Regions from separate parts of the Homo sapiens genome. Here regions 2, 3 and 4 are each linked to region 1. The links are contacts of gene promoters, found by promoter capture Hi-C in human tissues and cell types (Jung and others, 2019). All regions are on one chromosome and are shown on one strand. Each heading gives the region's core, a stretch centred on a gene start or on the middle of the fragment in contact. The rest is flanking DNA. Distances are from core to core; before and after follow the strand shown. Region 1 holds the start of YARS2 (tyrosyl-tRNA synthetase 2). Region 2 holds the start of LOC105369722 (a long non-coding RNA gene). Region 3 has its middle 91 kb from the start of ALG10. Region 4 has its middle 59 kb from the start of ALG10.

Region 1 (2,844 bases), core at 52-2,551:
ATTATACATGCAAAGAAACTAATTATTAAAATAAGTTTTCATTTTGTTAGATAACTTTATAACGTTAAAAAATGGAAAAGTCCTGTAGGGAATGATTTGGAACATGGCCCAGATCCCAGTCACAGGACCAAGGCACTCAATCCCCCAGCTGCTGGGAGTGTTGGTTGCTTATTGCTCACAGCTGAGTCCCTTCCTGCACATCTCACTCTCCAAAAGCCTTAACCCAGCGTTTTGCTTCCTCCCCAGAAACATCCCACATTTAATGAGCAGTCAGTAAGAGGGTCTAAAGGTCTGCCCCCTGGCCTCAATTCAGGATGACTCTGAAAGGAAATCCCGGCTCCAGAGCCCTTACTGGATTGCCTGAGGCCTCTATTACAAATTGTTCACAGTTCAACTTCTTTCTCCCTCCGCCCAACCCGGCCTCCCTCACTCCATTATAGGTGTTGTTCTTAAGAGCACACTCCAATTACCCTCCTGCAAACCAGTCTCCCCCCCAACTCAGAGTCCAGGGAATTCTACCTAAGACGATTTTGAAAGCGGTCCTAGAAATCAGGCTCTAACATGGGATTTTGAAGCTAGATCACCTGCCAGCCAGCTGCCAATAAGAACCTCATCCCTGGTCAGTATTCAGAGCACCTGTCACGCTGCACGATGTGATTACTAACTTGAATCCACTCATGCTAAGCTGTGTCCCAACCTAGTTAACTGTATTTAAAATAAATAAACCACAGGACTTGATGCATGTACTTTATTGCACTGAGTTTTTCTTGCTATACCTTGGACAAGACTGCCACCTCCTGGAAGAGCCGATGAATACTGGGGACGAGGTGCAATTAGGGAATCGGTACTATGAAATTGCTTGCGTCTCAGCAGCAACTCCCTATCTCTCCGCGAACTTAAACCAATTCCTAACCTTTCTCAACCTCTGTGAACAGCTTTTTGCATGGAACCAAGACTTCAAAGAACTTGCGCATCACAATCTTTTTACGTGAAAATGTAAATACAAGTTAGCATTTGTGAAGCGTTATGTGCCAAATGCTTTAATTTTTAAGGCTCACAACAGCCTTATGAGGTAGGAACTATCATAAGCAGATCCACACTGCTGATGGAAAAATTAAGTTTAAGGGAACGTAAGGCGACGGCTCTGAGGCGGAATCGCCACTTGGAGTCGGGACTCAACTGCTGAGAGCGCAAGCTCCGTAACTACGTAACCGTCTCGGGCATGCGCAGAAAAACACTGAAGCACCTTCCCTAGGAGCTGTAAGTAGGTGGGTGTGGTGGGAGCCTCTGCAATCCCAGCATTCCCTTCGTGCCGCTACCAAGATGGCGGCGCCCATCTTGCGGTCCTTTTCCTGGGGCCGGTGGTCTGGTACCCTAAATCTCTCAGTATTGTTGCCCTTGGGGCTGCGTAAGGCCCACTCGGGCGCTCAGGGGTTACTGGCAGCGCAGAAGGCTCGAGGTCTGTTCAAGGACTTCTTCCCGGAGACGGGGACGAAAATAGAGCTCCCAGAGCTCTTCGACCGTGGCACGGCGAGTTTTCCCCAAACCATTTACTGTGGCTTCGACCCCACGGCAGACTCGCTTCATGTGGGTCATCTACTTGCGCTGCTGGGCCTGTTTCATTTGCAGCGAGCGGGCCACAACGTGATCGCGCTGGTGGGAGGCGCCACGGCGCGCCTGGGAGACCCGAGCGGCCGTACCAAGGAACGCGAGGCGCTGGAGACAGAGCGCGTGCGAGCCAACGCGCGAGCTCTGCGCCTAGGGCTTGAGGCCCTGGCGGCTAATCACCAGCAGCTTTTCACTGATGGGCGCTCCTGGGGCAGCTTCACTGTGCTGGACAACTCGGCCTGGTACCAGAAGCAGCACCTGGTGGACTTCCTGGCGGCAGTGGGGGGTCACTTCCGCATGGGGACGCTGCTGAGCCGGCAGAGCGTGCAGCTGCGGCTCAAGAGCCCCGAGGGCATGAGCTTGGCCGAGTTCTTTTACCAGGTGCTCCAGGCCTATGACTTCTATTACCTCTTCCAGCGTTATGGATGCAGGGTCCAGCTGGGCGGATCTGATCAACTAGGCAACATCATGTCCGGATATGAGTTCATCAACAAGTAAGTGCCTTTAAACCTTGGGGAAATCCTGGGACCAAATAATTTACACACTAGTAGCCTGTGATTCACTCTTAGGATTGTAGTTGCTGCCCTTCGTTCCAGCTCTTGTTGGTTTTATCCCCATTAAGGCTCTATAATGGCGTTAATAACACTGGCTAATAAGAATTAAAGGGCTGAATTAAGGGTATTAAGAGTAAACGGTGTATTCTAAAAATTAGCTGGGCGTGGTGATGCACGCCTGTAATCCCAGCTATTCGGGAGGCTGAGGCAGGAGAATCTCTTGAACCCGGGAGGCGAAGGTTTCAGTGAGCCGAGATCGCGCCACTGCACTCCAGCCTGGGGCAACAGAGGGAGACTCCGTCTCAAAAAAAAAAAAAAAAAAAAGGGAAACAGACCACTAGTGAAGATTTGGTCGGTCTGTTTTGCTTCGCCTAAGTCGTCCTCTCTAATTAGAGAAACTGCTTTTGTGTGTTTATACCAGAACGTGACTGGGCCTCCTTGAGTAGCTAGCCTCTGCTTTAGCTCTGCACCCTCCATGAAACTAGTGTTAGTCCTTGGTTGGTATCTCAAAAAGTTTTTTCAACTCCAAATAATTGACAAGTAATGCGGGTCTAATAGCATTTTCTTGAGAGAGGTGAAGGATAGGGCTAGCTCATGTGCAACAGAGCAAAGCACATGTTTAAAAGGCGTTTAGAAGATTTCCTTTAGTGTCTCTTCCTGACACCCCTTCACCCAGTTTTCT
Region 2 (2,835 bases), core at 236-2,735, 1.0 Mb after region 1:
AGAATGGTGATTAGACTATTATGGAGGAAGAAGTGTCTTACGGGGAAAATGAATCAGAATATCCAGTAGAAATATCAAGCAGGCAGTTAGAATATAATTTTGAATCTGAAAGAAAGATCAAGGATTAGGCTGGGTGCAGTGGCTCATGCCTGTAATCCCAACACTTTGGGAGGCCGAGGCAGGTGAATCACTTGAGGTCAGGAGTTCGAGACCAGCCTAGCCAACATGGTGAAACCCTGTCTCTACCAAAAATACAAAAAAAATTAACTGGGCATGGTGGTGCACATGTGTATTCCCAGCTACTTGGGAGGCTGAGACAGGAGAATTGCTTGAACCCAGGAGGCGGAGCTTGGAGTGAGCCAAGATGGTGCTACTGCACTCCAGCCTGGGCAACAGAGTGAGACTCCATCTCTAAATAAATAAATACATAAATACACAAATAAAATGAAGAGAGATCAAGGATTGAAACTAAGATTGGGGGTATAACTTTGTAGATGATAGGAAGCCATGGTTAAGTTTAAAAGAGGGCTATAGAGAGAAAAAAAGAAAGTCAAGGACAAAATTTTATGTAACACTTACATTAGAAGCAGTCCATGTTGCCAAAACTCTTTTATTTGTTAGATCAATTCACCATATGATGATTTGGCCAAATAGTAATAGGTTGTTTCTTTTAAGTATAAAACGTAGAGCAACTATTATTGGTTGGGATATCCACCCGTCTCCCCAATTGTTTTACAGCTTTTAAAGATTATAAGTTTTAGCTGACTTCTTTTCATTTTGTCTTGAGAAATGAGACTGCCTGTGCCAACTGTGGGGCCTGAGAATCAACACCACTTATGTCAACCTAACTTTTTGCTCTAGGAAATTTTTGCAAATCAGTTTATCTAAATAAACAGCTATCAGGACAAACATTTTGATTTTTAGGACAAACATTATGTTTATCTGGACAGATTGCTCATCAAGCCTGGCTTTTTGTGTCCATCCGTTTTAAACTAAGTCACAAACTTTGCCTAATCCTTACCCATTCGCCACTGTGGGGGGAGAAGCACCCACTTAAACTGGTGGCGTTTATATCCCAGAAACTTATGTATACTCTTGCCTAACATTCCTCTATTGAAATGCTACCAAAACCCTGTCAAGATGATCTCCCTTGCTGTAGTAAATGTAATACATGATTTGACAAATTTAATCAATTTGTTTGACCAGCAGGGTTTCTGGATGGGCTTTGTGGCCATTCAATAGTCCTCCCAGAATTTTAAGAACTATTTGATTTGTTTCTGTCCCAACTCCCTGCTATTGCAGCTGGAGGGAACTGGAGCAGAAAGAGGAAACCATTTACTTTGGGAAACACATGGTACAGCCTCTGCACTGCTGAGCTCAGAGAAGAGCATACTAAAGGGCTAAGATGAAAGAGACTGAGAGAAAAAGGTGGCGGTGGGGGGCAGAGAGCCATGTTGTAGGAAAAAGGTAACATATTGAAATATACCTGAAATCTTGCATAAAGCAAAATACAGTAGTCTCTCCTTATGTGCTGTTTTGTTTCGGCAGTTTCAGGTACCTGCAGTCAACCATGGTAAAAAAATATATATATATGTTAAATGGAAAATTCTAGGAAGAAACAATTCATAAATTTTAAATTATGCACCATTTTGAGTAGCATGATGAAATCTCATGCCACCCTGCCCTGTCTGCCCAGGATGTGAATTCTGCCTTCGTTCAGCATATCCATGCTGTCCATTTAGTAGCCTTCTTGGTTATCAGAGCTATTGTCGCAGGGCTACTGCATTCACATAACCCTGATATTACTTAACAATTGCACCAGAGCACAAGAGTACTGATGCTGGCATATTGTTACATGTATTTTTTATTTTTCCACCCAATCCTTGTAGATGTTGTTATAACTGTTCTATTTTATTGTTGTTGTTGTTCATCTCTTACTGTGCCTAATTTATATATTAAACTTTACCACAGGTATGTCTGCATAGTAAATGCAGGGTGTATATATAGGATTTAGGATTCAGTACTATCCATGATTTCAGGTGTCCACAGGGAGTCTTAGAATGTTTTTCCCATGGATAAAGGGGATCTGCTATATAACAGGAGTGATTGTCAGTCACTTCAAATGCTTTACTTTTCTCTAATCCCCTACTCACAGAGGTCATGTGCAAGAGGAACAAGAGCATTTTTATAAAGTTTACACAGACTTACCTTGTTTCCTTGCTTGACTGGTGTGGGTCACTGTAGGGGTACTTGGTGAGCAGTATCCTCAACCAAGTGGTAGTTATCTTTGTTATCTAGGGCAGGAGTTGGTAACCTTTCTGTGAAGGGCCAGAGAGTAATATTTTCAGCTTTGTAGGCTACACACCCTCTGACACAGTTACTCAGCTCTGCCATTGTAGAACACAAGCAGCCACAGACAACACATAAAGAAATGGCAGCAGCCTGAGGATGATAAGGGGTGTGAAACATCTGTTGAATACCTTGACTATCGGCTCATTGTTGAGCAACCTTTGCAGTAAAAGACCTATCATTGTCAGAGTGAAAGTGGTCTGCTTTGGGAGGCCGAGGCGGGTGGATCACGAGGTCAGGAGATCGAGACCATCCTGGCTAACATGGTGAAACCCTGTCTCTACTAAAAATACAAAAACTTAGCCGGGCATAGTGGCGGGCGCCTGTAGTCTCAGCTACTCAGGAGGCTGAGGCAGGAGAATGGTGTGAACCCAGGAGGCGGAGCTTGCAGTGAGCCGAGATCGCAGTGGTCTGGAAAACCAAAAACATAACACACTTTGATCAGTGTGGCTGGAGTTGGTTGATCAGACTGAAACCATGAAACCA
Region 3 (2,924 bases), core at 83-2,582, 1.2 Mb before region 1:
TTGCCAGTCTGTGTCTTTTAATTGGAGCATTTAGCCCATTTACATTTAAGGTTAATATTGTTATGTGTGAATTTGATCCTGTCATTATGATGTTAGCTGGTTATTTTGCTCGTTAGTTGATGCAGTTTCCTCCTAGCCTCAATGGTCTTTACATTTTGGCATGTTTTTGCTGTGGCTGGTACTGGTTTTTCCTTTCCATGTTTAGTGTTTCCTTCAGGAGCTCTTTTAGGGGAGGCCTGGTGGTGACAAAATTCCTCAGCATTTGTTGTCTGTAAAGTATTTTATTTCTCCTTCACTTATGAAGCTTAGTTTGGCTGGATATGAAATTCTGGGTTGAAAATTCTTTTCTTTAAGAATGTTGAATACTGGCCCCCACTGTCTTCTGGCTTGTAGAGTTTCTGCCGAGAGATCAGCTGTTAGTCTGATGGGCTTCCCTTTGTGAGTGACCCGACCTTTCTCTCTGGCTGCCCTTAACATTTTCTCCTTCATTTCAACTTTGGTGAATCTGACAATTATGTGTCTTGGAGTTGCTCTTCTCAAGGAGTATCTTTGTGTTGTTCTCTGTATTTTCTGAATTTCAATACTGTCCTGCCTTGCTAGATTGGGGAATTTCACCTGGATAATATCTAACAGAGTGTTTTCCAACTTGGTTCAATTCTCCCCATCACTTTCAGGTACACCAATCAGACATAGATTTGGTCTTTTCACATAGTCCCATATTCCTTGGAGGCCTTATTGGTTTCTTTTTATTTTTTTTCTCTAAACTTCTCTTCTCGCTTCATTTCATTCATTTGATCTTCCATCACTGATACCCATTCTTCCAGTTGATCCAATCGGCTACTGAGGCTTGTGCGTTCGTCACGTAGTTCTCGTGCCTTGGTTTTCAGCTCCATCAGGTCCTTTAAGGACTTCTCTGCATTGGTTATTCTAGTTAGCCATTCGTCTAATCTTTTTTCAAGGTTTTTATCTTCTTTGCCATGGGTTCAAACTTCCTCCTTAACTCGGAGAAGTTTGATCATCTGAAGCCTTCTTCTCTCAACTTGTCAAAGTCATCCTCCATCCAGCTTTGTTCCATTCCTGGTGAGGAGCTGCGTTCCTTTGGAGCAGGAGAGACGCTCTGATTTTTAGAGTTTCCAGTTTTTCTGCTCTGTTTTTTCCCCATCTTTGTGGTTTTATCTACCTTTGGTCTTTGTGATGATGACGTAGAGATGGGGTTTTGGTGTGGATGTCCTTTCCATTTGTTAGTTTTCCTTTTACCAGTCAGGACCCTCAGCTGCAAGTCTGTTGGAGTTTCCTGGAGGTCCACTCCAGACCCTGTTTTCCTTGGTATCAGCAATGGAGGCTGCAGAACAGTGGATATTGGTGAAGAGCAAATGTTGCTGCCTGATCGTTCCTCTGGAAGTTTTGTCTCAGAGGAGTACCCGGCTGTGTGAGGTGTCAGTCTGCCCCTACTGGGCGGTGCCTCCCAGTTAGGCTACTCAGGGGTCAGGGACCCACTTGGGGAGGCAGTCTGTCCATTCTCAGATCTCCAGCTGCGTGCTGGGAGAACCACTACTCTCTTCAAAGCTGTCAGACCACTAATCTCTTCAAAGCTGACAGGGACATTTAAGTCTGCACAGTTTTCTGCTGCCTTTTGTTTGGCTATGCCCTGCCCCCAGAGGTGGAGTCTACAGAGACAGGCAGGCCTCCTTGAGATGCAGTGGGCTCCACCCAGTTCGAGCCTCCCAGCCACTTTGTTTACCTACTCAAGCCTCAGCAATGGTGGACACACCTCCCCCAGCCTTGCTGCCGCCTTGCAGTTTGATCTCAGACTGCTGTGCTAGCAATGAGCAAGGCTCCATGGGTGTAGCACCTTCCAAGCCATGCGCAGGATATAATCTCCTGGTGTGCCATTTGCTAAGACTTTTGGAAAAGCACAGTATTAGGGTGGGAGTGACCTGATTTTCCAGATGCCATCTGTCACCTCATTCTTTGCCTAGGAAAGGAATTCCCTGACCCCTTGCACTTCCCGGGTGAGGTGATGCCTCACCCTGCTTCAGCTCATGCTCAGTATGCTGCACCCACTGTCCTGCGCCCACTGTCCGACACTCCCCAGTGAGATGAACCTGGTACCTCAGTTGGAAATGCAGAAATCACCCATCTTCTGCATCGCTCATGCTGGGAGCTATAGACTCTTTATCCAGTTTGCCAGTCTGTGTCTTTTAATTGGAGCATTTAGCCCATTTACATTTAAGGTTAATATTTTTATGTGTAAATTTGATCCTGTAATTATGATGTTAGCTGGTTATTTTGCTCGTTAGTTGATGCAGTTTCTTCCTAGCATTGATGGCCTTTACAATTTGTCATGTTTTTGCAGTGACTGGTACAGTTGTTCCTTTCTATATTTAGTTCTTCCTTCAGGAGCTCTTGTAGAGCAGGCCTGGTGGTGACAAAATCTCTCAGCATTTGCTTGTCTGTAAAGGATTTTATTTCTCCTTCACTTATGAAGCTTAATTTGGCTGGATATGAAATTCTGGGTTGAAAAATCTTTTCTTTAAGAAAGTTGAATATTGGCCCCCACTCTCTTCTGGCTGGTAGAGTTTCTACCGAGAGATCAGCTATTAGTCTGATGGGCTTCCCTTTGTGGGTCACCTGACCTTTCTCTCTGGCTGCCCTTAACATTTTTTCCTTCATTTCAACTTTGGTGAATCTCACAATTATGTGTCTTGGACTTGCTCTTCTTGAGGAGTATCTTTGTGGTGTTCTCTGTATTTCCTGAATTTGAATGTTGGCCTGCCTTGCTAAGTTCTCCTGGATAATATCCTGAAGAGCGTTTTCCAACTTGGTTCCATTCTCCCTGTCACTTTCAGGTACACCAATCAGATGTAGATTTGGTCTTTTCACATAGTCCCATATTTCTTGGAGGCTTTGTTACTTTCTTTTTA
Region 4 (2,910 bases), core at 154-2,653, 1.2 Mb before region 1:
GAGAAGTCCCATATTTATCTGTAATGGGTTGGCCACAGTATTCTTCTAATTCTAGGCTGTTGCCTGAGGGTAACACAATAGATTTCAGTATACAGAAACTGGGCTCTTAGTTTGGAAGTTTACAGTGCACATCCTCATGGCCTCCACGCTAGGCTTGGATGAAGAAAAGGAAACCCAATCCTAGCCCTTCACTTTGACAAGGAGCAGACTGAAGCTTCCCACACAGCAATAACCACTTCCAAATACCCTCTTTATAAATTTTCTAGGAATCTTTTTGTCCTCAATGTAAATGATGGAGTTAAGAATTATTTTTTCTTTTATCCACTTTAAAAGTGCAGTAAAATGCTGTCATTTTGGAAGGTATGTGTATTGTCTTTATGCTTCAGCTAACATGGAGACAAGAAAAATACCATTTTAACATCCTGTGAGGTTTGCATTGGTTAATATGATAAAAGGATCATTGGTTACCAGGTAAAACAAATTTATTTTTGTGGTGGGGGTGGGTGGGAGGAAAAATGAAATGGAGGAGGACTATGCAGATATTATGGCGTCTCCCCAATCCAGTACTGCAAACGAAGTCATCTGGTTAAAGGAAATAACTTTTTTTTTCGTGAGAGATTTGGTGAGATTCTTGGAAGGAAATAATTTCATGAGAGTGTTCAGAGAGATTTGTAAAACTCTGGGTACAAGAAGAGCTCCAGTGGAAAAGTGTGTCTCAAACCTAGGGAGGAGGCTCTTCTACCTTTCTCTGGGTGAAAATGACATATGTGGTGAGAGCGTACATGAAAATCTTCTTGAGGATGGATAATATTCCTTGTCTTCATGGGCAGTGACAGTGCTTAAGCTTTTCCAATTGTCTTTACAAGGTGTAAAATGGGATTATGGAAATGTATGTGTCATACATGATACATTGCAGTGACCGTATCTATTACATGCTCTTAAGATCCAATTTTAGGTATTCCCAGAAATAACAGAGCCAAATTTTGCATGGGACTAATTTTTGGTAGTGAAAATATTGAGTCTTGTCTATGTATATCAGTCAGGCTTCAGGCAAGAAAATGGAAAACATTCTATATTGTAATTACAAAGAATTGTAACACATGAAATTAGAGGCATATATAACTGCTATCTAGGATGAGGAATCAGAATTCAGAAAAGATGATCTCAATTTGAACTCTGAGGTGGATTTCACCTAGAAATTGCTGGGAATTTAAGAACCTCTGGGAGCCTCCCACTGACTATCTTAATTTGCAGAACCAACTCAAGTGATTAACAAAAATTTACTATAATATGTTTCAGCTAAACTGTAGTGAGTGATTCACAGGAGACTGTCAGAAAATCATATAACTGCCATCTGCCTACTTGTCTGCCTGCAACTGTCTCTTTTAGTCACATCTTCTAAACAGTGTGAGATGGTTTCTCATTGACAGATGTTAACATAGAACCACATAGGGAAGAAGATGTTGGGAAATTTATTTAGAAGGATTCCTAGCAGGGGTGAAGATGATGTTGAGTTAACAAAAGACAATCCAATGTTCTATCACAATTGAGGAATACACAGAAATACAAAAGATCCTCAGACTATTACAAAACACCTCTATGCACACAAACTAGAAAATCTAGAGGAAACGGGTAAATTCTTAGAAACATGCAATTTCCACAGATTGAATCGGGAATAAATTGAAACTCTAAATAGGCCAATATCAAGTTCCAAAATTGAATCTGTAATAATAATTTAAAAAACCCTATGAACCAAATAAGGCCCTGGATTCACAGCCGAATTCTACCAGATGTACAAAAAAGAGCTGGTACCAATTCTACTGAAACTATTCCTAAGGAAGAGAAACTCCTCCCTAGCTCCTTCTGTGAAGCAGGCATCATCCAATGATAATGCTGGCCAATATCCTTGTTGGCCAAAGATTCAGTTGATGAATCCAGTTTTCCAAAATAGATGATTCTGATGATTCACATGATTCTGATGTTAGTTCTGTTTAGAAATAACTCCAAGAACAGTTTTTACATTTTATTTTCATATTGAAAATCAGTCAGATTTGCTTCAGCCTCAAAGAGCATGTTTATGTAAAATTAAATGAACTCTGGCAGCAAGCTGCACTTTTTTTTCTAAATGGGAAAAGTGTTAAAGATGTCATCCCATTATCATGAGTTTTAAAAAATGTATTTCTGTTCTTCAAATATACCTGATGATGATACAGGCCTATACCCTTGATGGATGTAAATGCAAAAATCCTCAACAAAATACTGGCAAACTTGAGTCCAGCAGCATATCACAAAGTTAATTTACCATAGACCCACAGACTAATAGGCTTCATTCATAAATTGCAAAGTTGATTTAATATATGCAAATCAATAAATGTGATTCACAAATAATCAGAATTAAAAACAAAAACCATATGATCATCCCAACAGATACAGAAAAGCTTTCAATAAAATCTAACACCTCTTCATGATTAAAAAAAAAACCCTCAAGAAAATAGGCATTGAAGGAACATACCTCGAAACAATAAGAGCCTTTTATGACAAACTCACAGCCAACATCACACTGGACAGACAAAAACTGAAAGCATTCCCCTTTCAGAGATCTAGAATAGATAAGAATGCTCACTGTCATCACTCCTATTCAACATAGCACTAGATATGCTAGCCAGAGCAATCTGACAAGAGAAATAAAATCATCCAAATAGGAAAACAAGTCACACTATCTCTCTTCACTAATGATACGATTCTAAAACTGTGCTTTATTTGTTAACAGAAATAGGGACCAGTGTAAATCTAACCGGTATGAAACCCATAGGGCCAGGAGGGACCGTTAGACAAGGGAACAGCAGTGCCATTCATGAAGCTATTGTCTCTGAGCTCCAAACACACTGTTCCATACTCTATTTCACTAGG

What was found. The method cuts DNA at HindIII sites, captures the fragments that hold promoters and counts their contacts. A contact is called where the count stands out against the background at its distance.
Region 2: a contact is called between a fragment that was not itself captured here and the fragment with the promoter of YARS2 in region 1, in 1 of the 25 tissues and cell types used here (dorsolateral prefrontal cortex).
Region 3: a contact is called between a fragment that was not itself captured here and the fragment with the promoter of YARS2 in region 1, in 1 of the 25 tissues and cell types used here (dorsolateral prefrontal cortex).
Region 4: a fragment that was not itself captured here is called in contact with the fragment with the promoter of YARS2 in region 1 in 1 of the 25 tissues and cell types used here (dorsolateral prefrontal cortex).

What each region holds. Positions count from the first base shown.
Region 1 is chr12:32,754,354-32,757,197 of GRCh38, reverse strand. YARS2 (tyrosyl-tRNA synthetase 2) reads left to right here and starts at 1,301. Exons shown (of 5, transcript NM_001040436.3): 1 at 1,301-2,102. The coding sequence starts at 1,324. RefSeq lists enhancers at 442-1,081, 1,286-1,515, 1,536-1,635, 1,082-1,721, 2,006-2,165 and 1 more. The HindIII fragment of the contact is 8,220 bases long and covers 1-2,844 here.
Region 2 is chr12:31,723,291-31,726,125 of GRCh38, reverse strand. All of the region lies in intron 1 of AMN1 (antagonist of mitotic exit network 1 homolog), which reads left to right. LOC105369722 (a long non-coding RNA gene) reads right to left here and starts at 2,337. Exons shown (of 3, transcript XR_931497.3): 1 at 2,209-2,337; 2 at 1,487-1,558. The HindIII fragment of the contact is 6,979 bases long and covers 1-2,835 here.
Region 3 is chr12:33,929,703-33,932,626 of GRCh38, reverse strand. No RefSeq gene overlaps it. Among named protein-coding and RNA genes, the nearest start is that of ALG10, 91 kb to the left of the region's middle. The HindIII fragment of the contact is 3,937 bases long and covers 1-2,924 here.
Region 4 is chr12:33,962,273-33,965,182 of GRCh38, reverse strand. No RefSeq gene overlaps it. Among named protein-coding and RNA genes, the nearest start is that of ALG10, 59 kb to the left of the region's middle. The HindIII fragment of the contact is 4,025 bases long and covers 1-2,910 here.